3 separate regions of the Homo sapiens genome follow, and all the other regions are linked to region 3. The links are contacts of gene promoters, found by promoter capture Hi-C in blood cells and fetal thymus (Javierre and others, 2016). All regions are on one chromosome and are shown on one strand. Each heading gives the region's core, a stretch centred on a gene start or on the middle of the fragment in contact. The rest is flanking DNA. Distances are from core to core; before and after follow the strand shown. Region 1 overlaps KIAA1217. Region 2 has its middle 5.4 kb from the start of KIAA1217. Region 3 holds the start of PTF1A (pancreas associated transcription factor 1a).

Region 1 (2,876 bases), core at 5-2,504, 1.3 Mb after region 3:
AGCATATTGGAGTTTCCCATGTGCAACAGACCCGTGTCCCCTGCCAAGCAGAAATAATAAACGGAACTAGTACAGGGCTTGACGATTAGGCTGCTTACAATGTGCCAAGGTCTAGTCAGATCTTCAGACAACAAGAAGCTTTCTAAGATGGGGAGACAGCACCCCAATAACATGGGTTATATAGCTGTGACCAGGCATCCCTTGTCTTGTTCCCTGAAGCCTGCAGGAACAGATCCAGGTGGGATCAGGAGTCGTTCTGAGGTCTGGCTTTCCTCCTGAATCTTTCTGATTTGTGGTATAACCACTGTTCCATGTCACTGCTAGACAGCAAAATCAGTCCAATTACATTATCCATTGTTGGCAAGACTGATAGTCTTAGATTTTACCTAAGAAATCAAAATTGAGTATGTGAGATATAGGTCCATTTTCAGGTTGGGGGAATTAGGTTTAGGCATTTGCTAGTTTCTCCATGAAGTGATTTGGATAACTTATTTGGTCCAATTAAAATTTTAATGGACAAGAGCATTATTTCTGTCTCTTATTTTACAAGAGTGCTTATAAAAATGGCAAAGCATTTTCAATAAATTATCTTTCTAGCTATGAGGAATAACTGCAACTCTACTTGCCCTCCCACTGTGGGCAACTAGAAAACTGAAAAATAAGCAAATGTATGAAACAAATGTTTTCAGAAATTAAACAACACAGGACCGTAATCCTTAGGAGAATGGGGGGAAAAAACCTACAGTTGACCCAGCTTTCTGTCTGGAGGCACTTTTCAGATCTTGGTGCAGGAAGGAAAAACCCAAGCATGGCACTGACAGTGAGTTGAGGAGATAAGACCAAAGTTTAGAGAGAGCTGAAACAGCTAGAACTGGTGGACTGGAGAACCAAACACAAGAAAGCTCTGCAGAGAAAGAAGTACATCAATAAATGGGTCTGTTATTAAATATTAAGCCAAGCATGTACAGTGTGAAAGCAACCGCTAAGCCAGGCAGAAACTAAGTCGGGGGCTGTAAGCCAAAAAGTTCCCGAAGTTCACACAGGCCTGGGAGATGTTCACGTTTTGAAAAGCAAAAAGCGAAGAGGCCTTGTTGAGCACCTGGGCATTTTGTAGAGATCGGAGAAGGACTGTGCCTCAGTCTTAGGACTAAACTAGCCCCAGAGGAAAGACTACCCTTGATTTAACCTAACTGCTTAAAAATAAGCCTTTAAAGGACAAAGCTGATCCACAAGTAACTGGACTGTCTGCCAGAGAAAGTCCAAAATCTGTAAAGGAAAACAACAAAATTCAGAGCTCCATGCCCAATATCCACTCAAAAATTACTAGACATGTGATGATGCTGACAAATGTGACCTATAACATTAAGAAAAATTTGTCAAGAGAAACCAACCAGACATGGCAGGGATAATGAAATCAGCAGCAAGGACTTCAAAACAGCTATTATAATTATTCTCAAGGATTTAAAGGAAGACATGAACATAATGAGGAAAGAAATGGAAGATATAAAAAATATCCAAGTGGAGCTTTCAAGAGCTGAAAAACAATATCCAAATGTGCTTAACAGAAGATTAATCACTGCCCAAAATGTCAGTCACCCTAAAAACAGCAATGGAAACTGTTCAAACTGAAGTATAGAGAGACAAGAGACTAAAGAAAATGAATTAAAATGTAGTGACCAGTGAGACAATATTAATAAAAGATGAAGTGGAAAGAGAAAAATATTCAAAAAGGTAATGACTGAATTTTTTCCAAATTTGATGAAAGCTGTAAATCCACAGACCAAAAAAGCTCAGTGAACCCCTAGAATGGTAAGCACAATGGAAATTGCACCAAAGCACATGGTAGTCAAATTGCTAAAAACCAGAGATAAATGGAAAAATCTTCAAAGCAGCTGGGGGTGGAGAGAAAACCCATTACATACAGGAATCACAATTAAGAATTAATGCCAACTTCTCATCAGAAACAAAAGGCAAGTCAGGACACAGTGGAATGACGTCTTTAAAGTATTGAAAGGAAGAAAAGTCTTTCAGAAAACAGAGAATACTTCCTAACTCATTTTATGAAGCCTGCATTACCCTAAGAGCAAAACCAGACAAAAATATTATAAGGGAAGAAAACCACAAACCAATATCCCTCACGAAAATATATGTAACAAATCCTTAACAAAACGTTAGTAACTGAATCCAGCAATATATAAAAAGAATAATACATTATCCTGGGGTTTTATTCCAGGAATGCAAGATTGTTTTAATACGAAAAAAATCAACGTATTTGACCTTATTAACAGAAAAATCGTATTTCAATAAATGCAGAAAAAGCATGTAACAAAATTTAGCATCAATGATAAAAACAGCGCTCTAGAAGTAGAAGGAAGCTTCCTTACCTTGATAAACAATGTTTGTGAATGACCTACAGAAAACATAGTTAATGGTGAAACACTAAACACATTCCCCATAAAATCAGGAGCAAGGCCAAGAAACCTACTCTGACATCTGTTTAACACTGTACTGAAGATTGTAGCAAGTTCAGTATGGCTAGAGAAAGAAATAGAGTCACACAAATCGAAATGTAAAATGTCTAATTGGCTTTACTCACAAATGACATGATTATATATGTGTAACATTAAATGGAATCTACAAAACATGCTACTAGAAATAAGTGACTTGAGCAAGATCACAAGAATCAAGTCAATGTACACAAATATTAAAATTTTGTTATATCCATTTGTACAATGAAATGCCACTTAGCAATAAAAGAATGAATCACTGAAAAACTCAGCAACAGGGCTGGATCTCAGAAAAACATATTCTGAACAAAATAAGCTGGACACAAAGGAGCACATGTTATATAATTCCATTTTTATAACGTTCTAGAA
Region 2 (3,225 bases), core at 715-3,214, 1.0 Mb after region 3:
CTTTCATTCTGTAACATCTGTGTCTCTGTTTCTCTTAAAGCCTATGGCCATCACTCAACCGGAGGCTGAGAACTGATGAAAAAGTGGAACAAAAACAAAATAAAACTAGCTGCGTTGTTGAAACAAAGTCAATTTCAGTGTTTATTTGGCAGAGAAGCCAGTAGAGGTGATCAAAGTGATCAGGGCAATTCACTTGTTTCGCTGGCCCTGGGAGGGAAGGTGAGGAGCTCTGAATTCCAAAGGTAGGGGGAGAGGAGAGCAAAGCTCAGGGGAGAGAGCGGTCAGGAAACTCCCTGGGCACAGGCAATCCCTGCCAGGACTCCAAGACACCAGTCACAGGCTTCTCCTTCTCCTGCATCAGGGTGACCTGCAGGGCCCTGTTCTCGGAGCCTCCACCCTCCACCCTGGGCTGCACCACGGCCCCCAAGCCTTCATGAGCACCGTTGCCCAAAGGCTGTGCTCTGGTTGCACCCTTGCTCCCAAGCTCCCCTCACAGGCGCTTTCCCCTATCCTAGCAGCTCCACGTCTCCTCTGCTCTGAGGGTGGTTTCCATCTTTGGCCTCATCCTCCTGGAAGCCCTGCCCCCCAGGGAGGTCCCTGGCATCACAGTCTTAGCTTACAGACTAGAGGTCTCAGTGACTAGAGCAGGCGCCCAGCTGCAGGGAGACTTTGATAAATATCTATGGCCGAACTGCATGATGCCTTAGGGCTCTTACAGCAATGCCCCCCAAATAATACCAGACCCAATTCTATAGTTGAAAGAAGAGGAATTTTAGAAAATAGGTATACCGGGCCAGGGGCAGTGGCTCATGACAGTAATCTCAACACTTTGTGAGGCCAGGGCTGGAGGATTGTTTGAGCCCAGGAGTTCAAGACCAGCCTGAGCAACATAGTGAGACCTAATGTCTACAAAAAAATATAAAATTAGCCAGGCATGGTGGAGTGTGCCTGTAGTCCCAGCTACTTGGGAGGCTGAGGGTAGAGGATTGATTGAGCCCAAGAAGTTGAAGCAGTGAGCTGTGATCATACCACTGCAATCTAGCCTGGGTGGTGGAGTAAAAACTTGTCAAAAAAAAAAAAAAGAAAGAAGAAGAAGAGAGATACCTCCCCTTTTATTCTTCATTTCCATCTAGCAAAATAATAAAAATAATATTGATGATTGAGGGGTCGCCTTGGACAATTGCCTTGGACTTCAGTAGTGAAAAAAGAGGATAAAAGATCCTAAGGTATTCATCAAGTATAACAGAGCAAAGGCTGAACAGGACCCTGGAGACGAGAAAGATGGGAGAGATGAGAGCCACACGTTCGAGAATGCTCCAGGAGTCAGTTTGTTCAGCAGCAAAGTTGGGGGATGTTGGTGGGGGAAACAGGGAGAAGTGTACTCCATGATCCTAGTTTTGGCAACTTGATTGGTTCCCCTTCCTTCTTGCTCCCCCTACCCCCCAACCCCCACCTCCACAGGTCACTGCAGCTTTGAGAAATGGCAGAGGAGAAGCTCAAGGGCAGAAAATAAGCCAGGAGAGTCTCTTTCCCCCAAATACTCTATTGAAAGGGTTGATAATGAGGCACTGTGGGTAAAGCAAGGTAGCAACCCAGGTGCTTGTATCTGTAGAAGCTCTCATATTCTCGTGGATTCCACCCTGGCCCTTCAGGAACTCTGGGAAATATGCCATGGTTTTGCTCCCTCTGGGATAAAAGGGGTGAGCAGATACATGTTACACTTTTCACTTATAAGTTGCCACCTGGAATCCAGACTTTGTCTGCAGTGACCAGAGGGCAGAGCTGAGCGGGGCTTTCAAGACGGTATGCTGCACAGATGCCAGCTCTGGCCACAGTGCTGTGCACACGGGGTCTTTGCTGCCCAGCATCTATCTTCCAACTTAAAATAGATAAAAGAAACCATAATAAAAACCAACATCAATGGGTTCTCTTAAAAAGAAAGCAAATATGCTTAAAGTATTAACACATTGGATCTATGTGTAGTTTCACATCATATGACCACATGAGGAATTTGTGTGGAGTAGCAGGAGAGTTCCAAGACATTTCATAGGGAGATTTGAGTGTTGGTGGGTGGCGAGGGGCTCCTGGGCACCTCACTTATTGTCTGGCAGGATCTCCTTGGAGCCACTGGAATTTTAAGGACTTTAAGTAAGGGAAGATTGGTTACCCTCTGGAGAGAATGCTGGAGGTTACCTGGTGAAATTGTTGCTCTTAACGCAGAAGGGAAAATTCTGTTTTGATCTATGAGTCATATAGAAATGTATTATACTATGGAATCTGCGAAATTGTTTGTTAGTGGGGCTTGTAATACGGTCCGTGTGAGGCTCACACCTTTGCTCTAATTATTGTTTAAGATTAATTATTTTTTAATTATTGTTTCAGATTCTTTTATAGGGTCTTTGTTGGGAAACTCAAACAGTATCATTATGTTCCCCTCACATTTGGAAACCTAAGGCGCCCAGAGGGCTTATCTTGGGATCACACATAGGTGGCCATCTGTGCTGGTTTGCCAGGGACAGTCGTGGTGTCTTATTGTCCAGTTGTAATTATTAATAGTGTCTACTTTCCCTCTCACAAATGCTGGTTTATACTAAGTATAAGGTCACCCTAACCACCTGACACATTGCTGTCAAAACTAGGATTGGAGAGCCCACATTTCACATGCGCCAGATCATCCATTTAAGCAAATGTTATCCCAGTTGTTAAAAATCCTTTATTTCTGACTTACAGGGCCTCATACCATAGCAGCCTGTCTTTTAGAAACAGTTAATGTGGAACACATCAAACACGAGGCCTCTGGTTGAAACACTTTTGTTGACTTCTTTGTTTTTCACTTTGTTTTAATTGACTCTCACAGTTATGAATGCCTTTGAAAAGTACATTTTAAGGACTTCAGCAAGCATTAATTATTTCTTTTGTGTCCTGATGTCAAGTCATTTTCAACTATCTGGTTCTTAATAGGATTTAAAGTGAAAAAATATTAAATATGTATCAGGGCAATTCCACTTACTCTTGGTTCTTGCAATGATTTCTCTGTTGAAAAACTTACATAGGCCAGGCACAGTGGCTCACGCCTGTAATCCCAGCGTGATTACTTTGGGAAGCCAAGGTGGGCGAATTACCTGCGGTCAGGAGTTCGAGACCAGCCTGGCCAATGTGGTGAAACCCCGTCTCTACTAAAAATACAAAAAAAAAAAAAAAAAAAAAAAAAAGCCAGGCGTGGTG
Region 3 (3,072 bases), core at 385-2,884:
CTGTCCATATTTGCCTTTAAGGATATGCAAATAGTGAACGACTCCTTCACTGTGAAGGCTGAGAAACTAACACAGGAAAAAACTACTGAAAACCAGTCAGTCCTTGGGTTAAAATTGTTTGGGGTTGTTGGCAGTTCAAGGTAAGGCAATCTCTGGCCTTCTAACCTTATATATCTTTTGGTTTAACTCTTTGTTCTCAATTCAGTTAATTACAGTGCAATGTCTAAAACCAAGAAGCGTATTTAAATCACTAATCTGAAGAGGCATGACTTGGAATTTGAGAGGCGTCTGAATACCCAACAGAAGCCTCTAGTGAGACAAGTGCCTGAAAAAGGAAGCGGCCCAGGAGGACGACTCCTTTCAGTCCTCTGTAGAGAGAATACGCACGATGGCTGCGCTTCTGAACTCTCCCGGGGTGGAAGCTGCAGCCTGGCTTTTAACCGGAATTGCCCAGACCTTGAAAGTGTTTCTTTGTTGCTCTTAAAAAGAGGAATTCACGTTGCATCGCAGTCTGTGATAAAGTCTGTCTTGGGGCAGAGCTGCATACGTTTTGTGTTTTTTTTTTTTTTCAGAAAAGAAAGGTCGAGAAAGAAAAAAACAAGTCATTCAGGGATGGTCCCTGTGGCCAGTCGGAAAGGTGAGAGACTCGGGCTTTGAAAACGATTCACATTCTGCCCTTTAACTTCAATGCCTTCCCTCCGGACTGCGCCGGAGCAGACGATTCAATGGACTCCTTTTGTATCCAGTTTATTGCTCAGAATCCCTAGGGTCTAGATTTGCTCTCAGAAGAAACGCGCCCCGCTGAGCTGCTCTGGGGGCTGCCCCTCCCGTCTCCCCATTCCTTTCTCCGGGCCGGGGAGGGCAGGGGAGGCAGCCACTGAGCCGATGTCGCTGGGGACCCGCACCAGGCACCACAGCCAGGCTCCAGAGCGGAGTCCCATAGGTGCGCTCCCAGCCCCCGTGTTGCGTCTGGAACGCAGTGGGAGTGGGCCCGGATCACCTTCCAATGACACCCGCATATACTCTGCAAACTGTGCAAAAGCCCTTGAAAAGTCCAGAGATGGGACAGAAGCCCCCAGCAGAACCCAGGCCGGAGCCCCGCGCACCTCGGATAAGGGGGTGGCGGAATGCACCCACCTGGTCCCTGAGGGCAGCACCCTTAGATTGCCCAGGCTGCCGCGGAGGAGGACGATCGCCGCGCGGGCTCCGCTCTCGCCGTCTGGGCCACCGGCGCGCACCCCTAGGAACTTCTCTGGCCGCGTGTAGACGCGGCGCGCGGCTGCCCCAGTCCCAGGGCGGAAGGAGCCGGCGCTGCTCAGCGCGCGCGGGTACGCAGCGGGCACCGCGGGACGCAGGTGCCCCTGGAGCCGCACGCGGGGCAGGTACAGAATCCAGTATGCAGAGGCAGAGGAGAGGGAAGAGAGCGGTGCGAGGAGCCCCGGGCCGCGCGACCCCGCCTTTTCCTCGCCCCAGGAGCTCCCAAAGGGAGCAAAACGCCCCCCACCCCCGCCCACCGCCGCGCCTCCGGGCCCCCTCGCCGCCGGCACACCGCGCTCTGATTGGCTGGCGCGATGGGTCCCTGGCACGCGCCTATGGATGTTGTTATAAGAATCCTCGCGTGCCGGCCCTCAGCTCCAGGAAGTCCGCCACAGCCCTCCCCAGCGCAGCGCGAGCGCGGGCCAGAGCGCAGCGGCCGCGGGCACTCCAGGGAGGCCCGGGGGCGGGCAGCCCGGCGGCCGCCTAGCTGCCCCCAGCCAGGGCCCCGGGAGGGAGGGGCTCGGACGGGCCTTAGAAACTCACCAAGAACTAACACGCGCAGCCCGGCAGTCCCGCTGCCCACTGCGGCGGCGAGCATGGACGCGGTGTTGCTGGAGCACTTCCCCGGGGGCCTAGACGCCTTTCCTTCTTCGTACTTCGACGAGGACGACTTCTTCACCGACCAGTCTTCACGGGACCCCCTGGAGGACGGCGATGAGCTGCTGGCGGACGAGCAGGCCGAGGTGGAGTTCCTTAGCCACCAGCTCCACGAGTACTGCTACCGCGACGGGGCGTGCCTGCTGCTGCAGCCCGCGCCCCCGGCCGCCCCGCTAGCGCTCGCCCCGCCGTCCTCGGGGGGCCTCGGTGAGCCAGACGACGGCGGCGGCGGCGGCTACTGCTGCGAGACGGGGGCGCCCCCAGGCGGCTTCCCCTACTCGCCCGGCTCGCCGCCCTCGTGCCTGGCCTACCCGTGCGCCGGGGCGGCAGTACTGTCTCCCGGGGCGCGGCTGCGCGGCCTGAGCGGAGCGGCGGCTGCGGCGGCGCGGCGCCGGCGGCGGGTGCGCTCCGAGGCGGAGCTGCAGCAGCTGCGGCAGGCGGCCAACGTGCGCGAGCGGCGGCGCATGCAGTCCATCAACGACGCCTTCGAGGGGCTGCGCTCGCACATCCCCACGCTGCCCTACGAGAAGCGCCTCTCCAAGGTGGACACGCTGCGCCTGGCCATCGGCTACATCAACTTCCTCAGCGAGCTCGTGCAGGCCGACCTGCCCTTGCGCGGCGGTGGCGCGGGCGGCTGCGGGGGGCCGGGCGGCGGCGGGCGCCTGGGCGGGGACAGCCCGGGCAGCCAGGCCCAGAAGGTCATCATCTGCCATCGGGGCACCCGTAAGTGCTTCCGCTTCCCAGCTCAGGGAGAAGGGGTCGGGCACTCGAAGGCTCCGGAGGGGCTGGGGGAGCTGACTGCCAAGCAGACAGTCGGACCGACGGATTGTCGGTGGGCACGGAAAAACTTGAATGCGAGCTCGCGTTTCTCGTTTTTTTTTTTTTTTTTATTTTTCTGCCACGTTGACCGCGGCTCTCAAGGGCGCGCGTCCCCGCCAGACTTGCAGCTCCTCGGATTCCTGGGAGGGGACGGTGGGGACTTGAAGTGTGGAGGAAGAGGGTGGTTCTAGTATAACCGGAGAGCACCCAGGAAAGGGTCCTAAAGGACCTGATGGGACCAATGGGAATGTGGTTGGATATTCACAGTCTGTTTTCTCTTCTCACCTGTCCAGGGTCCCCCTCCCCCAGCGACCCTGATTATGGCCTCCCTCCCCTAGC

Evidence for each region. The method cuts DNA at HindIII sites, captures the fragments that hold promoters and counts their contacts. A CHiCAGO score of 5 or more calls a contact.
Region 1: a fragment that was not itself captured here is called in contact with the fragment with the promoter of PTF1A in region 3 in 1 of 17 cell types (M2 macrophages); the score reaches 5.6 in M2 macrophages.
Region 2: a fragment that was not itself captured here is called in contact with the fragment with the promoter of PTF1A in region 3 in 1 of 17 cell types (M1 macrophages); the score reaches 6.0 in M1 macrophages.

The regions. Positions count from the first base shown.
Region 1 is chr10:24,505,964-24,508,839 of GRCh38, forward strand. The region is part of intron 9 of KIAA1217; the gene reads left to right. Among named protein-coding and RNA genes, the nearest start is that of ARHGAP21, 220 kb to the right of the region's middle. The HindIII fragment of the contact is 2,237 bases long and covers 137-2,373 here.
Region 2 is chr10:24,202,117-24,205,341 of GRCh38, forward strand. It overlaps a transcript of KIAA1217 not described here. Among named protein-coding and RNA genes, the nearest start is that of KIAA1217, 5.4 kb to the right of the region's middle. RefSeq lists an enhancer at 126-891. The HindIII fragment of the contact is 5,088 bases long and covers 1-3,225 here.
Region 3 is chr10:23,190,678-23,193,749 of GRCh38, forward strand. PTF1A (pancreas associated transcription factor 1a) reads left to right here and starts at 1,635. Exons shown (of 2, transcript NM_178161.3): 1 at 1,635-2,637; 2 at 3,027-3,072. The coding sequence starts at 1,854. The HindIII fragment of the contact is 14,718 bases long and covers 1-3,072 here.